Regions from separate parts of the Homo sapiens genome. Here all the other regions are linked to region 1. The links are contacts of gene promoters, found by promoter capture Hi-C in blood cells and fetal thymus (Javierre and others, 2016). All regions are on one chromosome and are shown on one strand. The core of a region is centred on a gene start or on the middle of the fragment in contact, and the rest is flanking DNA. Distances in the headings are between cores, read along the strand shown.

Region 1 (3,529 bases), core at 1-2,500:
GTCAATCTAAATGAAAAAGCAAGGTAAGGCTTATTAGCTTCCAGTCACCTCGGAAAAGCCAGTGATTACACATGCAGAAGACATTTTCCTAACAGGGAAGGGCCATCCTTGCACACAAAGAAAATACTTTACTCAAGAGTCATACGCACCTTTTCCCTTTGATGAGGTTTAGCTACTCTGCTGTGAGGAATAATTTTTGCGGCGTAGACTTTGTTATTTGTCAAATCTGTCATCTCGTAACATTTTGCAAAGCCACCCTGAAAGGAAACAAAGCCGAGACGGAATTGAGGATGGCACAAAAATGGACGGCAGATATTTTAAATAAATAAATAAATGGGAAGAAAGAAAAGCAAAAAAAAAAAAATTGAGGAATGGAGGAGGGTGGACAGAGGGAGGCATTCGACTTCGTTAAAGCTCCCTCATGAAGAGAAATGCATTGCTGGAAACAGCAAGTTCAAACAGTTTCTCTTCTTCTTTTATAAAGGGGAGCTTTATGGAGGGAGTTGGAACGGGGAGACATGAAAAATAATCTCTGATGAGACTTGTCAGGAAAATTCCCTGGGAGCAGATAGAGGGAGAGAGGTCTGATGTAGAAAGCCCTCGCTTCCAGACTCAAGATGCATTTCTCTGGGCTGCGGGAGACACACAGTTCTGAGGCTAAGAATGCAAAGCCGATCCCCAGCGCTGCCGGCGCACAAAAGCCAGAGGGCAGGTGAGGAGCCCACCTCGCGCTGGGATCGGACCCCCGAAAAACCCGGAAGCGGCGGGCGAGGGACCCCGCGGGCTTGCCCGGCTTGGGGTCGCCCGGACAGACCTCCCGCCCGCCCGGCAGCCCGGCGCCCTCCGCTTGTCACCTTTCCCAGCACTTTGCCCCGGCAGTAGCGCTTCCCAGTCGTGGGGTCGACGATAATCCGCGAGATCTCCGGCCCCGAGTGCGAATGGTGGTGATGGTGGTGAGGGGCCGCCGGGGGCACTTGCGCCTGGGACTGAGGTGGCTGCGATTCCTCGGGGGGCTGCGGCGGCCGCTTCTTCTTCGAGTCCGCTCCGCAACCCTTGCCCAGCGCCTGCTCGCACATTTTGGTGCTGGCGGCTGGCTGGTAGGTGATAGTCCGCAAAAGCTCCATGGTCGCCTTGCCGCCCCGCACTGCCCGCTGCCACCCCCTAGGCGCGGTCACACGTCCGAGCCGGCCGTGGTCCTCGCACCCTTGCCTCTGGTGCCGACTAGCACCCAACACCCCGGTCCACTTGTGCGAGTGAGAGCGCTCGGCGAAGTCTTATATACGGGGAGGCGGGAAGGGGGCGGAGACTCGATACGCGACATCACGTCACGGCCTATGCCCCGCCCCACGGCCGGCCGAGCGCGCGTGGCCGGGAAGCAAGTCTTGTCCCGCCACCCGGGTCTCGCTTCCCAGCGGAGCCGCGCGCCTCAAACGCCGGCCGCCGAGATCTCTTGCGGCCGCGGGAAGGCCTTCAGAGCCGTCCGTGGGCCCCGCTGTCCCGTTCTTCGAAGGCTCCGAGCCTCAGCGTACAAAACAGAATCGCGAGGGCCGACGCCTGGCCTCACCCCCGCCCCAGCCGCCTGGTGGCAGGGCAGTGCCGTGACCCGAGCGAGTCGGGCGCGGGTGTAGACGCAGTCCCTCCCCCGCACAGCCCTTCCCGGCCGCCCGGGGCCTCCTGTGTCAAGGTATCAGGGTGCCCGGAGCCCGCCGCACGGGCAGGCGAGGCCTCCTCCGGCCGTATGACAGGGCTCGTCTGCAGCTGCCCCGCAGTGCCTGCCCGCGCTGTGACGAGCTCGCTGGTGTCTAGCTGGGGCAGTGCCGAGAGGCCGTGGGGGTGAAAGGCCGGGATTCGTGGAGCCGGGCATTCGAGCCCATCGCGCTAGGGCAGACACGGGCCCGCAGCCGGGATCCCGGGCCGATCGGCCAACCGTGCCAGGATCCCACTCGAGGCCCGTCTGGCCCCCGCCCATGCCCCTAGAGCGAGCCTCTGTCTGAGGTCGGCCCCTGAACCTTGCAGAGCGAGGTCGGCGTCCTGGCAAGGCGTCCTCCGCCCGTAGCCCGAAGATTGGAAAGCAAGGGCGCCATCTTGTGGAATGTTCCGGAATGCCGTTAGGTGTCGAAGTGGGCAGCGGTTGACAACCGTGGGCCTTTGACAGTTACTAGTACTAAACATCGATGCCGATTGTGAGTTTCCAATCAGAGTCATCTATGACTTCTTCCGAATGCATCTGTTGAGATGGCTCATGAGCTGCCCTGGTTCCTGGAGAGTCAATCTGAGACTTTCTGGGGTAGGGAGATTGGTAGGATGAAGAGAGGAGCGTAGGCCAGTGAGTGCAAACACAGCTTAGTTTCCCATTTCCAGATTTTGCTGTGCAGTTTGACTAATCTAGGAACACGTTTTTTTGTTTGTTTTTCTTGTTCTAATTACGATAGAGTAACATTTATTGAGGACTGTGCAGTATTTTTAAATGCCTTATTTCATCCTACAACAATTCTGAGAGAAATATTGTAAGGAAGGAAAAATAATTTTCCACCTTTCAAAGTTTTGGCCTGGGTCGCTGTAACCAGACAGATTAACAAGAAAACAAAGAAGCTTATTAACATATACGTCTCATATATACATGGGAGATAACCAGGAAAATTAGAGATGGTTTAAAATCGGGCTTAAATACTATCTTTAGCTAAACCAAAAGAAAAGAGTGGGGCAGGCAAGTTAAGGAATCATGACCAGGAAATGTACGGTAAACAGGAGTGGGGTTTCTTATTTCTTCATTGATAAGTTTTTCATGATTTAGAGTCATTCTTCCTGGTACAGAGGAGACACTTTTACAAATGGAGTTTTGTGGGGTTTTTTTGTTTTTTGTTTTTGTTGTTTTTTTTTTTAGTGAATGTACGTTTCCCTTACGAAAGGGTAATATGCCATTTTTAGAGCATTTCCTGGGTCTGCTGGTTCTCAAAATAATTATCTTAAAATAATCTTTATCCCAGGGCCATATTTGGGGTGGCATATTCTCATCTCCTACATTATTATTCCCATTTTATAGATGAGGCTTGGAGAACTTAGGTAATTATTGTATATTTTTACTAGATCATCGAGGTTAGGTTAATTAGCAGCACACTTGAATCTTTTTACCTATGTTAACAGGATATGGTAAATAGTTTTTTGAAGCTAAATTCCAGAGAAATTTAGAATACCAGATTATTGAATCCCTGGAAGGTACATACAAAAAGTTGCTGCAGTCCACTGTCAAATTTAGGTATGTGTGGTATCAACATTAATCGAACATTTACAAAAATACTGTGTCTCAAATACTTCCAGCATAATGTGGAAAAGAGGCTTATTGCCATTAGAGAGGAGAAAGGGAAAGGCTTTGCCATTAGCGAGGAGAAAGGGAAAGTCTTTGCTGTCACTTCCGTTTTTGATTCTTTAAAGAGTGCAGGGCAAGTCCAGGCATGTTTCTCATAAGTGACAATAGACTTTAACCCCAAGATTGTCAGGGATGGAATAAGGGGTGGGGCTTAGGGGTGGA
Region 2 (3,529 bases), core at 594-3,093, 4.2 Mb before region 1:
GAAGATCACCTCAGTGGCTATGACCAGGGTATGGAGACTGTAAGGCAGGAGTTCCCAGCACACAACATAGTTCTCTTCCTAGCCAGCCTTCTCTGTAACAATCACCTGCCAGAGTCCTTGGGGACAAGGGCGCATCAGCCTGCCTGCTCATGGCCACTGCTTTCTTTAACATAGTAGTGGTCAAGGACCACTTTTCTGTACCTGTTTACTTAAGAAGCAATATACTAAAAATTTTGAGTGCATCCCAACTGCCTTAACACCAAGCTGCCTGAGCCTCTGCCTAGCACAAGGGAACTACTTGTAGGTGGAAGGCAATGAAGAGGGAGGGCCCTGGGGCCACAAGCGCAGTTCAACTACTTGCTAGCTGTGTGAACTTGAGGAAATTACACAACCTCCCTGAGCCTCAGTTTAATGCTATTACACATGCAAAGCACTTAGAACACTGGCACAGAGTAAGTGTTCAATAAATGTTAACTGATTTTGCCCTCCTGATTATAACTCATATACTTATCTCCTCTCACCCCCGACCTGAGCACTGCCCACATGCCAACAAGCATGTGGCTTTGGCATCTTTCAGAATGCAAGCCCCTGGAGGGCATGAATCAAGGTCCCTATGTGTCCTCTCCTAGGGCTCATACTGTTAGACTGGAGCCACAGAAGTTTGGGAACCAGACTTAACACCTTTGTAGAAAAGTTCCTACCTAATGGTACGGATTTGCTCAAAACATTTTTGCTATATGAACTCCATATATGGTAGATCTGTTTATTGTGCTCAGATAATTTTTATCTTATAAATTATTAAGAAAGGAATATTTAATATGACTGCCTAATCCACTCGACATTTAGACTAAAAAGTGACCTACATTATCACTTTAAAGTTAGTCACAATAAATACAACTTACAATGTTCATAGATATTCAGGGTTAAAAACAACGAAACAATGTACTTTTTTTTTTATCAATAAAGAAGTTCAGTTCACAGATAACTGAACATAATATGAAATCACAAATGTACCTTCACTCCTCTTTTCAAGTAGGATCCTTTACAATTTCATAGTGCCTGTGGGCTCTACCCTTTGTAGCACATCATGGGTTTCTATTGTTGGTTAGTTAGCTGGTTTTTATCCTGCAAATGGTGACAGATTTGTGATGATCAACCCAATTCTCTCACCACATCTTCCCCACTGAGACATACATTTTTATGATGGCAGATACAGCCTATAACCAAGAAACTAAATAGGTCAAGTCCACCAGTCTATACAAAGAAATCTTATTAAACTAACCTATCAAATCTAATCTTATTAAATCCCAAACACTGGCAGGGCACGGTGGCTCACTCCTGTAATCCCAGCACTTTGGGAGGTCGAGGCAGGTGGATCACCTGAGGTCAGGAGTTTGAGACCAGCCTGGCCAACATGGTGAAACCCCGTCTCTACTAAACATACAAAAATTAGCTGGGCATGGTGGTGGGCACCTGTAATCCCAGCTACTTAGGAGGCTGAGACAGGAGAATCACCCCATTGCACTCCAGCCTGCATGACAAGAGCAAAACTCTGTCACAAAAAAAAAATAAATAAATAAAAAATCCCCAACACGGTACAGTAGTTTCCCCTCATCCATGGGGGATATATTCCAAGTCCCAGTGGATACCTAAAACCACAGATAGTACTGAGCTATCATAGAACTAACTAACATAGCACAGAGCACACTATATTTTTTCCTATACACACACACCTATGATAAAGTTTAATGTGTAAATTAGGCATAGTAAGTGATTAATAATAACTAATAATAAAAGTGAACAATGATAACAATATACAGTAATAAAAGTTATATGAATGTGGTCTCTCTCTCTCTTAAAATATCTTATTGTACTTTACTCACTTATTTTGAGACCTCGGTGGACCATGGTTAACTGAAACCTTGAAAAGTAAAACCGTGGATGGGAGGGTGGAGGCTACTATAAACAAATGCAATGAATATTAATTGACAATTAGCATCCAAGACTAATCAACCATTTTTACTTGTCACATTTTCAAGTCTAAGTTTATATTTTAGTTCACAATAAAACACACAAAATGAGAGAAATGTACTAGAAAGCAAAGAAGCACATCAGAAGCTACCCCCTCCCCTATGTGCCTTACTTAACCTGTCCTGCCACAGGTTCCTCTAGAGCCACACGACTGCCAGTCCTGCAGTCAAGGAGGATATTACAGCTGAGGGTTCATCCCGCATGACTTTCAGGGCCATGCAGAAAGTAAGGGCTCCATAAATATTTGTTGAATAGATAAATTATTCAAATGGGTTTTATTTTCGTAGCTTTTAAAAGATTCTTAAAAGAGTCTTGTGACTTCCTGCTTGTTGATTACAACTCCCAGTATTTCCATAAATTGAGACTAGTTTAAAAGGTATTTCAATACCACTAAGCAGTAACAGTCATTCTACAGGAGGTATAAAAGTAACATCAGCAACATAATCACAATACGTTAACTTTTTTTTTTTTTTTTTGTCTTGAGACGGAGTCTCACTCTGTCGCCCAGGCTGGAGTGCAGTTGTGCGATCTCACTGCAACCTCTGCCTCCTGGGTTCAAGCGATTCTCCTGCCTCAGCCTCCCAAGTAGCTGAGATTACAGGCATGCGCCACGACACCCAGCTAATTTTTCTATTTTAAGTGGAGATGGGGTTTCTCCATGTCAGCCAGGCTGGTCTCAAACTCCTGACCTCAAGTGATCCGCCTGTCTTGCCCTCCCAAAGTCCTGGGATTACGGGCGTGAGCCACCTCGCCCAGCCACACAATACGTTAACATTTTATATTTGAAAAGCAACGTACTGTTTACAAATGGCTTTCCCTCCACTATCTCATTTAATCATCATAGGTATTACACAGAGTACAACCAATTCTACCACTGTTGTTTTGATGGCGCAGAGGGAAAAAAGGTTAATTCCAGATCAATCATCACATGAGTCAAGACAGAAAATTTTGAACTGAAAGGAATCTAGAAGTTGATCTTGTCCAACCTCCCAGGAAAACTCGAGAAATGTGTTTTTCTCTTTCATTTTAACCTGACTATTTTCTCCTACCTTATCCAAAAAGCTCTGCACATTGTGTTACTAGTTCTACCTATGAGAAGAAAGAGTAAGATGCTGGTACTGCCTGTTGGGACAGCAGCTAAATGTTTACCCAGAGACTTGGCAGATGTAAACATGGCCTTTAAACCCCATCATGGAAAGGGGAAAAGTTGTGTGCCCTTCTAGGAAGATTCACTCATCAACTGGAAAACAGAGATTTTTATGTTTAAATTGCCACCCTGGCTAAAAGGATTATATCTTGATCATCTTCAAGTTAAGAGTAAAGGATACATTCTGCATTCCCCTGAACAAAACACCTAATCCAAACAGATTTTATCTTGTCTCAGTTTAAAAACTGGTGAAAAAAAGCAGAATTTTCCTTTCCATTTCATATTCATCTGATTCAACAAATAAAATATCGGGCCCTAACTATTAATACATGCCAGAAACCAAGTCAGGCA
Region 3 (3,529 bases), core at 596-3,095, 3.3 Mb before region 1:
CGTACCACCTCTTGGTCCTAAACAGATATTATGAACGGGGCCTTCGGCCCCGCATTAGAGAGTTAGGGAGAATGCAGAAAAGGGTGTTACTCACCCACAGCATCTCCTCTTCCGTGCGGACCCTCCGAGGCGCGGTGCGCTCCAGTTTCCACTCCATCTCCGGCTGACTTCGCCCTGCCTGGCGTTTGGCCTCTCTGCTCGACTGCCTCTGGTTTTCTTCCCAGGTCTAAGTCAGTCTTGACGCCTAATCGTCAAACCCCTGGAGTCCCGTCCCCCAGGACCATTCTATTTCACCACCTCCCTCCAGGTCCCCCACTCCTCCCACCGCCGCTGCAAGGTGTTCCCCAGGGTACCATTTAAAAAGCCGGCGGGGCGGCAGTCGGCGCGGGAATCCCCCTCGCCGGCTTCTTATTGGCCGGCGCCGCGGTGTCGTCAGAGCCCGGGTGGGATTCCCCGGCGCGCGCCGCGGCCCCGCCCCTGCCGGCCCTCTCTGGGCCCCGCCCCGCCACCGCCTCCGGCCGAGGCGCGCACCCGGGCGCCAAGCTTTGCCGCGAGCCGTGGCGGGCCTGCGGCTGGGCCTGGCGCCGGGGGCTGCCACCGCGGCAGGAGGCGGAGGGGTTGGCGGGCGAAGAAGCGGGTTCTGGGAGTTCACGATCTTTCCATTTTCAGAAACAAGAATGTTTCCTTATAACGGCCCTGATCCCTGTTCCTCTGCACCCACTTCTCTTTCTCCAACCACACCCTGCCTTTGCAGGATCCGAGCGTGCACAGCTCTCCGGCCTCTGTCCGTTGGTAATCGCTGTGTCAGCTATAGATGTGAGGCGTGTTCGTCAGCTCTTCGTTTTCAGAAGGCAAGAAAACGTGGCAAGATTTCTATGCCGATCAAAAGGGAGAGCGTTGACATATTTATGCAATAAATTATTCCCTGCTCTATACATTGGGAGTAGTCAGGTCCTCTCACTCGGGCTTCTGAGCCCTGTTCCTTAGCAGGGGGTAGGTGAGAGAGGTGAAGAGGTAGTGAAAGAACCAGTGACAGGCAGGACCTCATAAGGCGTGAAGAGGGGGCCAGAAAGCTGAGCACACTGGGGACTCCGTGATAAAGGGGGAGAGGAAGATATTGAGGGTTGAGGAAGAGGTCTGGCGGGAAATGACAGGGAACCAGATGGGCTGTGCAGCCTTAGCTGCCCATCTGAGCTGCCAAGAGAGCCGAGTTGTGCCATATGGCAGGAGGGGACACTGCATCTGGGAAGCCTCTGACAGCCTGGCAGCCTGTTTGTCCCTCCCTTGCTAACCCCCCAACCATTTTTGACATTGGATTGTATTTTGCTCTAAGGCAATGTGAGTTTGTGTGTTTTTCTGGGGAAACAGTTCATAGATAGCAGATACTCAAAAGGGTCAGTGATCCAAAAAAAAAAAAAAAAAAAAACCTAAAACTCACTCCCCTGCTTTCCTTCATACTGAAAGCAAGAAAAAATGGCATTAGAACTAAGACCCAATCTTAGACCAGTTTTCTATGTACAATAATAATGCTGCATAGGGTAACTTAATCTTCAAATGACATATATCAAAATGTTTGATAGTCAAATAACTAGTGGATTAAAAGATCTCTAAGTTTCACCCACAAGAAGTCTATTTTCCTTGCAGTGGAGTACTCATTCCAAATTCCAGTAAATCTTTCAGCAAACATTAAGACTAAATAAAAGTAAACTATTATTGGATGAGAGTCAGATGCATTGTTAATTTAAATGATCAGTTTTGCAAATGCCAACTAAAACTCAAAGTATATTGGAAATAATATGAAGGACATATTATCTTTGTTCTATTTTTAAATATAGTTTACATTTAACCATTTTGTATAAACACAGAATAAAAGCAATTCAACTAATAAGCTCATAAATCCATGTAAATTGGGATTTTTAGAATCCAATTTCTTACAAGTACTAAGAATAGTGAATCATTCATTTAGAATGCAATTATCTGTAAAAATACATTTATAAATTCCATTATAGCCATTAATTCCACAGCATACATATACACAGCCTCCAAATGTCTTTTTTTCCCCTAGTGTGAAGTAGAGAAAGTATTAGTCAAATATCTTTAGGAAGTAATTATGCAGTTGAATATTCAGATTAAAACTTAACTTCAGAATGATGGAAACAGAAACTCGCCACTTGGCAAATATTACAGTAATAACTGTCAAGAATACTAAAATTACCTTGCATATGATGAGAATACTTCCCCCTATAATTAAACACAAAAAATAAAATCACAACTTTTCACTGGCCAAAACTGGCAGAGACCACCTTAACCAAGTGATCAAAGTTAACATCACCATTAGTGAGACATGTTGACATACTGTGCCTCATGAGAAGGACACATCACTTCTGTGATATTTTTGCCCCACAAAATGCATAACCTTAATAGTGAGAAAATACTAGACAAACCCAAATTAAAAGACTTTCCACAAAATTGGCCAGTACTTTTCAAAAGTATCATAGTCATCAATAAAGAAAGAGTAAGAAACTGTCACAGATTAAAAGAAACAAGACATGCCAACCAAATGCATTGCGAGGTCCTGGATTGAATCCTGGACCACAAAAAAGAAGATATTGGTTAGATAACTGTAGAAATTTGAATTGATCCATATCTGCAGATTAGTTAATAGAGTAGTAGTAATGCTGATTTCCTAGTTATGATTATTGTACTATAGCTATATAAAATGTTAAGATTTGTGAACGCTGAGTGAAGGATATAATGGAATTATTTGTACCATTTTTGTAACTTTTTTCTAAGCCTGAAATTATTTCAAAATGAAAAATATTTAACATCATGTGGTCATTCTATTAAAAAGCACTTTGGTAAGACTGTTTGGGGAAAACAGAAACATCCTGTAAACATATTATCTTAATTTTTATCAAATATGGTTTAGGAACAATGTCCAATTCAAATATTTATGCGCCTAAGAGTAGCTTTACTATCTTTCAAATGTTTCCTCTTTGAGAATGGGTTTTGCAGGGAGGATGTGACAATGAGAAAGGCTGTGAGGAAGACTCCTGGACAAAGGCCAATAAGAAGGATTTTGAGGAAAGAAAGGCGACAGGAGCGAGGGGAGGTGGACTAGTGGAGGAAGGGAGAGAAAGAATTTGGAAAAGCTTCCCTTAACTCTCAAAGTCGCCGGTGCTCTGAGAATCTCAGTAGGTCCCTATCAATGGGAAGCAAGAGGATATTCAAGCTTCCCAAATGCGATCTCTTTTTTTTTTCAATTACACTTTCATTCTAAACATCAAGAATGTTAAATATCTCAAAAATATGCCATATACATGGGCTCGCTTCAGCGGCATATGCACTGAATGTGCAATATACCAAGTACACTCCCTTCAATCCGCTCTCCCAACCTCCTCCTTCCCCGACCTTCGTCAGACCCTTTTCAATGTATTTGCACGTGCACACATAGAGTCTGGCCCTGTGGATCTTTCCCCACAAATGAGATCTCATTATACTTATCATTTTTCAACTTGTTTTCTCTAAT
Region 4 (3,529 bases), core at 649-3,148, 3.2 Mb before region 1:
AAAAATAGGGTCAGAGAATCCAGCAAAATGTATAAATTGCCAACTTGAGCTTGGAAGAGAGGCCATCTACAAAGGAAAAGATAGAAGTAATGGAAATAGATGAACACTCCTAGAAGGGCTTTAGGAGTGAACTATACTGTCAAGGATTGACACCTTGAGAAAGGGTCACAGTTTGGGGCTGGAGGAAAGGGAATTCAAAGAATACAACAAATGACTATCGGTTCAAATTCAGAGGAATGTCAGTAAAAGACAAAGGAAAAGTAAAAAAGAGGCTGATCCACAGAATAAAACTGCCATAGTTGTCAGGGAGAAATTCTATGTATTTGTAATTACAAGTATGCTAACTCTGTAGCTAACACTACAATAAATCGCAGGGCAAAGAACTGTTTCCACCTTCTAGGTAAAGGTCTGGTACCTGCCTACTTTTTCAGTCTCATCTCATTTCATCCTTTGGCGATGCTTTATGTTCTGTGAATTCCTCAAGAGCCCCAAGCTCTTTCCTGACTCAAACTTTTTACACATGATGTTCATTACGCCCGCCTGGAATACTAATTTCTGCCATGCTTCACAGAGTTAACTCCTTTTTCATTCTCCTCATCTCAGCTTAACTGTTACATTTCCAGACACCATCCATGATACCTGCTCATCCCGAGAAAAATTAGATTACCCTGTTAAACTGTCTTCCCTGGCTTTTCTTTGTGGCACTTATCTATTATAAGGCTATAAATATGTCTGTGTGCGTTACCTATTAGTTAATACCTATCTCTGACATTAGACTGGCAAGCTCCATGAGGTGATGTCTCTTTTTGCTCATCACATTCCTCACATCTTATCAGACACATACTAAATATTTGCATATATACACATAAATGCTCAGCAAATATTTCTTGAATACTCCAATAAGTACAAGCAAACAACCCGAGAAGAACACAACAGAATGTAATTGTTCATCTTTTGAGCTCAACCGTAATATGTGGCCTGCTCATCTGCAGCAGGAATCGGCCATCTATAAGTTGAGTTGTCAAATCAATTTGTACAGTAAGCAAAACTGCATGGCGGCAGAAACGAGGGCAGACAATTTTACAATAGATTACACGTAACCAGTGTGTAACCAGTGTGTAAGTCCTGTAATTTTTATTAAGTATTGATTTTTCCAGAACGCATGGAGACACTAGATTGTTGCTGAAAATGATATGAAAAACTGACAGAAAATGGGGCTGGCTGGCACCAGGAGGTCAGGAACTCCACTCAGTACTCGTCTTTGCGTTAGCCTAGCTAGCTGAGATGGTGCTCAGGATGAATTCCTGCTGAAACAGGAGCTAATGCAATTATTTTGTTTTTAGAAGGGGGAGAAGTGTGAGTTAAAAGAGAAATGCCAGGCTGCAACAGGGCTACTGTCAGAATTTTGGAGGCCCAAAGAGCTTAGACTTTTTTAATCTAAAACAAGGCCACCCCATGGGGAGGTAGCAGCTCGAGTGTTGGGAAATAGAAATGTTGGGCCCGAAGCTCCTCCCGGGTTCTAAGGCCCTTTCCTCAGGACAAGCAGCAAGGTCTCAGGGCAGACAGCCAGGGGCTGGGGGACCTCTCGTACCTTGCTTGACACGGGGCTCCCTGGAGCCGGCAGCGGCAGCGGCAGCGGTGGCCGGCCTGGACACTGGCTTCTTGCTTTGGGCCTCCCCGGCAATTCCAGCCTCGGCAGATTTGGCTCTGGAAGCAGACACGGCGGCCCGGACCACCGCGGCCGCTGGAGCCTTGTGTTTCTTGTTCTTGCCGCCCATGTTGCAGCTGTGGCAGAAGATCCTTCGCGGCCCAGGCCCCGACGGTACCACTGCACAGCCGAGAGCTCTTCACATTCCCCGGCTCCGGGGCTGCCACCCTGCGCTTCGATCCGGGCTTCTCGGGCCGGGGCGACCGCTGCCTCGCAATTGGTCGAATTCAGCAGGCTCCGCCTCCTTGAGTCGCCAGCTGCCTGCCACACGCCAGGCGCCACGCGCCGCCCTCGCTCTTTATCCACTGAGCAGCTTATCCACTTTAGGTCGGAAAGGAAAGGAAAGAAAAGCAGGAAAAAAAAAAAAAGTCAGGGGAACATTTTTGTCGGCTGCGCGACTCGACTACTTTTGTCTCCTGCGGGCCACTGTTGAGCCTTCACGAGACGTCACTGTCTTCGGTCGCGGGGCATCGTGGGTAGGAGGGAGATTTGCTCTCACTGCTCCCAAAAATGGCGGACGCATTCGGAGATGAGCTGTTCAGCGTGTTCGAGGGCGACTCGACCACTGCGGCGGGAACCAAAAAAGACAAGGAAAAGGACAAGGGGAAATGGAAGGGGCCTCCAGGGTCTGCAGACAAGGCAGGGTAAGGAAGAAGTTCCAGTTGTTGCTTTTATTTTTTTTCTCGGTGGGGAGGAAGAAAACACTACTCTCTTAGGAAGAGCACGAGAAAGTGAAGTGTACATTGAGTGGCGTTGGAAGTGAAGGGGTTCCAGAAAAAAGTTGGAGAGGGTGGAAGAATGTTGGTTCGTGGAAGGGGGGTCTTGGCGTTTCCTGGTGTCTGCAGGCAGCGTGATCTTCTGCTTCAATTCCCTTACGTCGATGTTACTGATTCTGTCCCCATCTTCGCGGTTGTCTCCTGCATCAGCACAACACCTGGCACATAGTCGTTAATAAACAAAACGAATGATTAGTTGAGTAAAAGGTGAAAAGGTTTAGAAAAAATGATATGAATTGATTTGGAGGGGAAAGGGCAGATAATAACATGAGAAGGGAGAGACATTTAATCTCCAAGATGTAGTAGTTTTCTCTTCCGTAAAATGGAGATAATAGTGCCTACCACTGGTGGATATGAGGATTCAATGAGATACACGTGTAAAGTGCCTAACAGTGGTTAGCTAGCTATCACTAATAAATGGTAGCTATCGTGAGTTTATTGAGAAAAAATTTAAAAATTACTGGACCCTACCCATATGTTTAGACTGGTGCATACAGCCACCAGAAAGTGTACAGATCTGTTTATAGTAGAACAAGGAAAAGCTATTACTTGTATTAAATAAAGTAAGATGATTAATTAACAATCAACAAAATATACTCTTGGCATTGTGGGGCCAGATACCCAATAGATGCTTGAAATTAAATTAGACATGATTTTGCTCTCAAGGAATTTTCGGTGTAGGGAAAGAGAACAGGTACCCATTAAAGAGTTACAGTATAGGTGAGGAGGTCGTTAACTTAAAATGAATGATATATACAATTAAGTGTTATAAAAGTTCAAGAAAGGGAGATCCTATTTCTGACTTTCAGGAAGGCTTATTTATATACAAGAGAATATTCTGAGTTAAGGAAATTGTGTTGTTAATGGTGCCAAGTTTGTTTGTTTTTAGGAGCATAAATTGAGCAAGAGGAACTGTTTCATTTAGGGACTACAAGAGATAAGACTGGGAATATACATTGATTTGAGAACATGAGGGGCCTTGAATATCAAGCAGAGGAGTTTTGATTTCATTTTTAAAACCCTGTTGAACAAGGTGATTGGATAA

What was found. Contacts are between HindIII fragments. The CHiCAGO score rates a contact against its expected background, and 5 or more counts as called.
Region 2: a fragment that was not itself captured here is called in contact with the fragment with the promoter of PLK2 in region 1 in 1 of 17 cell types (naive CD4 T cells); the score reaches 5.5 in naive CD4 T cells.
Region 3: a contact is called between a fragment that was not itself captured here and the fragment with the promoter of PLK2 in region 1, in 1 of 17 cell types (total B cells). The highest score is 6.2, in total B cells.
Region 4: a contact is called between the fragment with the promoter of DHX29 here and the fragment with the promoter of PLK2 in region 1, in 1 of 17 cell types (total B cells). The highest score is 7.0, in total B cells.

Annotation. Positions count from the first base shown.
Region 1 is chr5:58,458,836-58,462,364 of GRCh38, forward strand. PLK2 (polo like kinase 2) reads right to left here and starts at 1,251. Exons shown (of 14, transcript NM_006622.4): 1 at 855-1,251; 2 at 150-257; 3 at 1-6. The coding sequence starts at 1,124. RefSeq lists a silencer at 1,569-1,748. The HindIII fragment of the contact is 4,873 bases long and covers 1-2,590 here.
Region 2 is chr5:54,303,902-54,307,430 of GRCh38, forward strand. The region is part of intron 1 of ARL15 (ARF like GTPase 15); the gene reads right to left. Among named protein-coding and RNA genes, the nearest start is that of ARL15, 4.9 kb to the right of the region's middle. RefSeq lists an enhancer at 771-1,434. The HindIII fragment of the contact is 5,398 bases long and covers 1-3,529 here.
Region 3 is chr5:55,172,844-55,176,372 of GRCh38, forward strand. CDC20B (cell division cycle 20B) reads right to left here and starts at 334. Exons shown (of 12, transcript NM_001170402.1): 1 at 95-334. The coding sequence starts at 157. RefSeq lists silencers at 58-352, 440-769. The HindIII fragment of the contact is 2,609 bases long and covers 542-3,150 here.
Region 4 is chr5:55,305,796-55,309,324 of GRCh38, forward strand. It overlaps DHX29 (DExH-box helicase 29), which reads right to left and starts at 1,899. Exons shown (of 27, transcript NM_019030.4): 1 at 1,592-1,899. The coding sequence starts at 1,778. It overlaps MTREX (Mtr4 exosome RNA helicase), which reads left to right and starts at 2,194. Exons shown (of 27, transcript NM_015360.5): 1 at 2,194-2,352. The coding sequence starts at 2,219. It overlaps LOC124900979 (a long non-coding RNA gene), which reads right to left. Exons shown (of 2, transcript XR_007058774.1): 2 at 2,354-2,642. RefSeq lists enhancers at 1,568-1,827, 1,968-2,447. The HindIII fragment of the contact is 7,705 bases long and covers 1-3,529 here.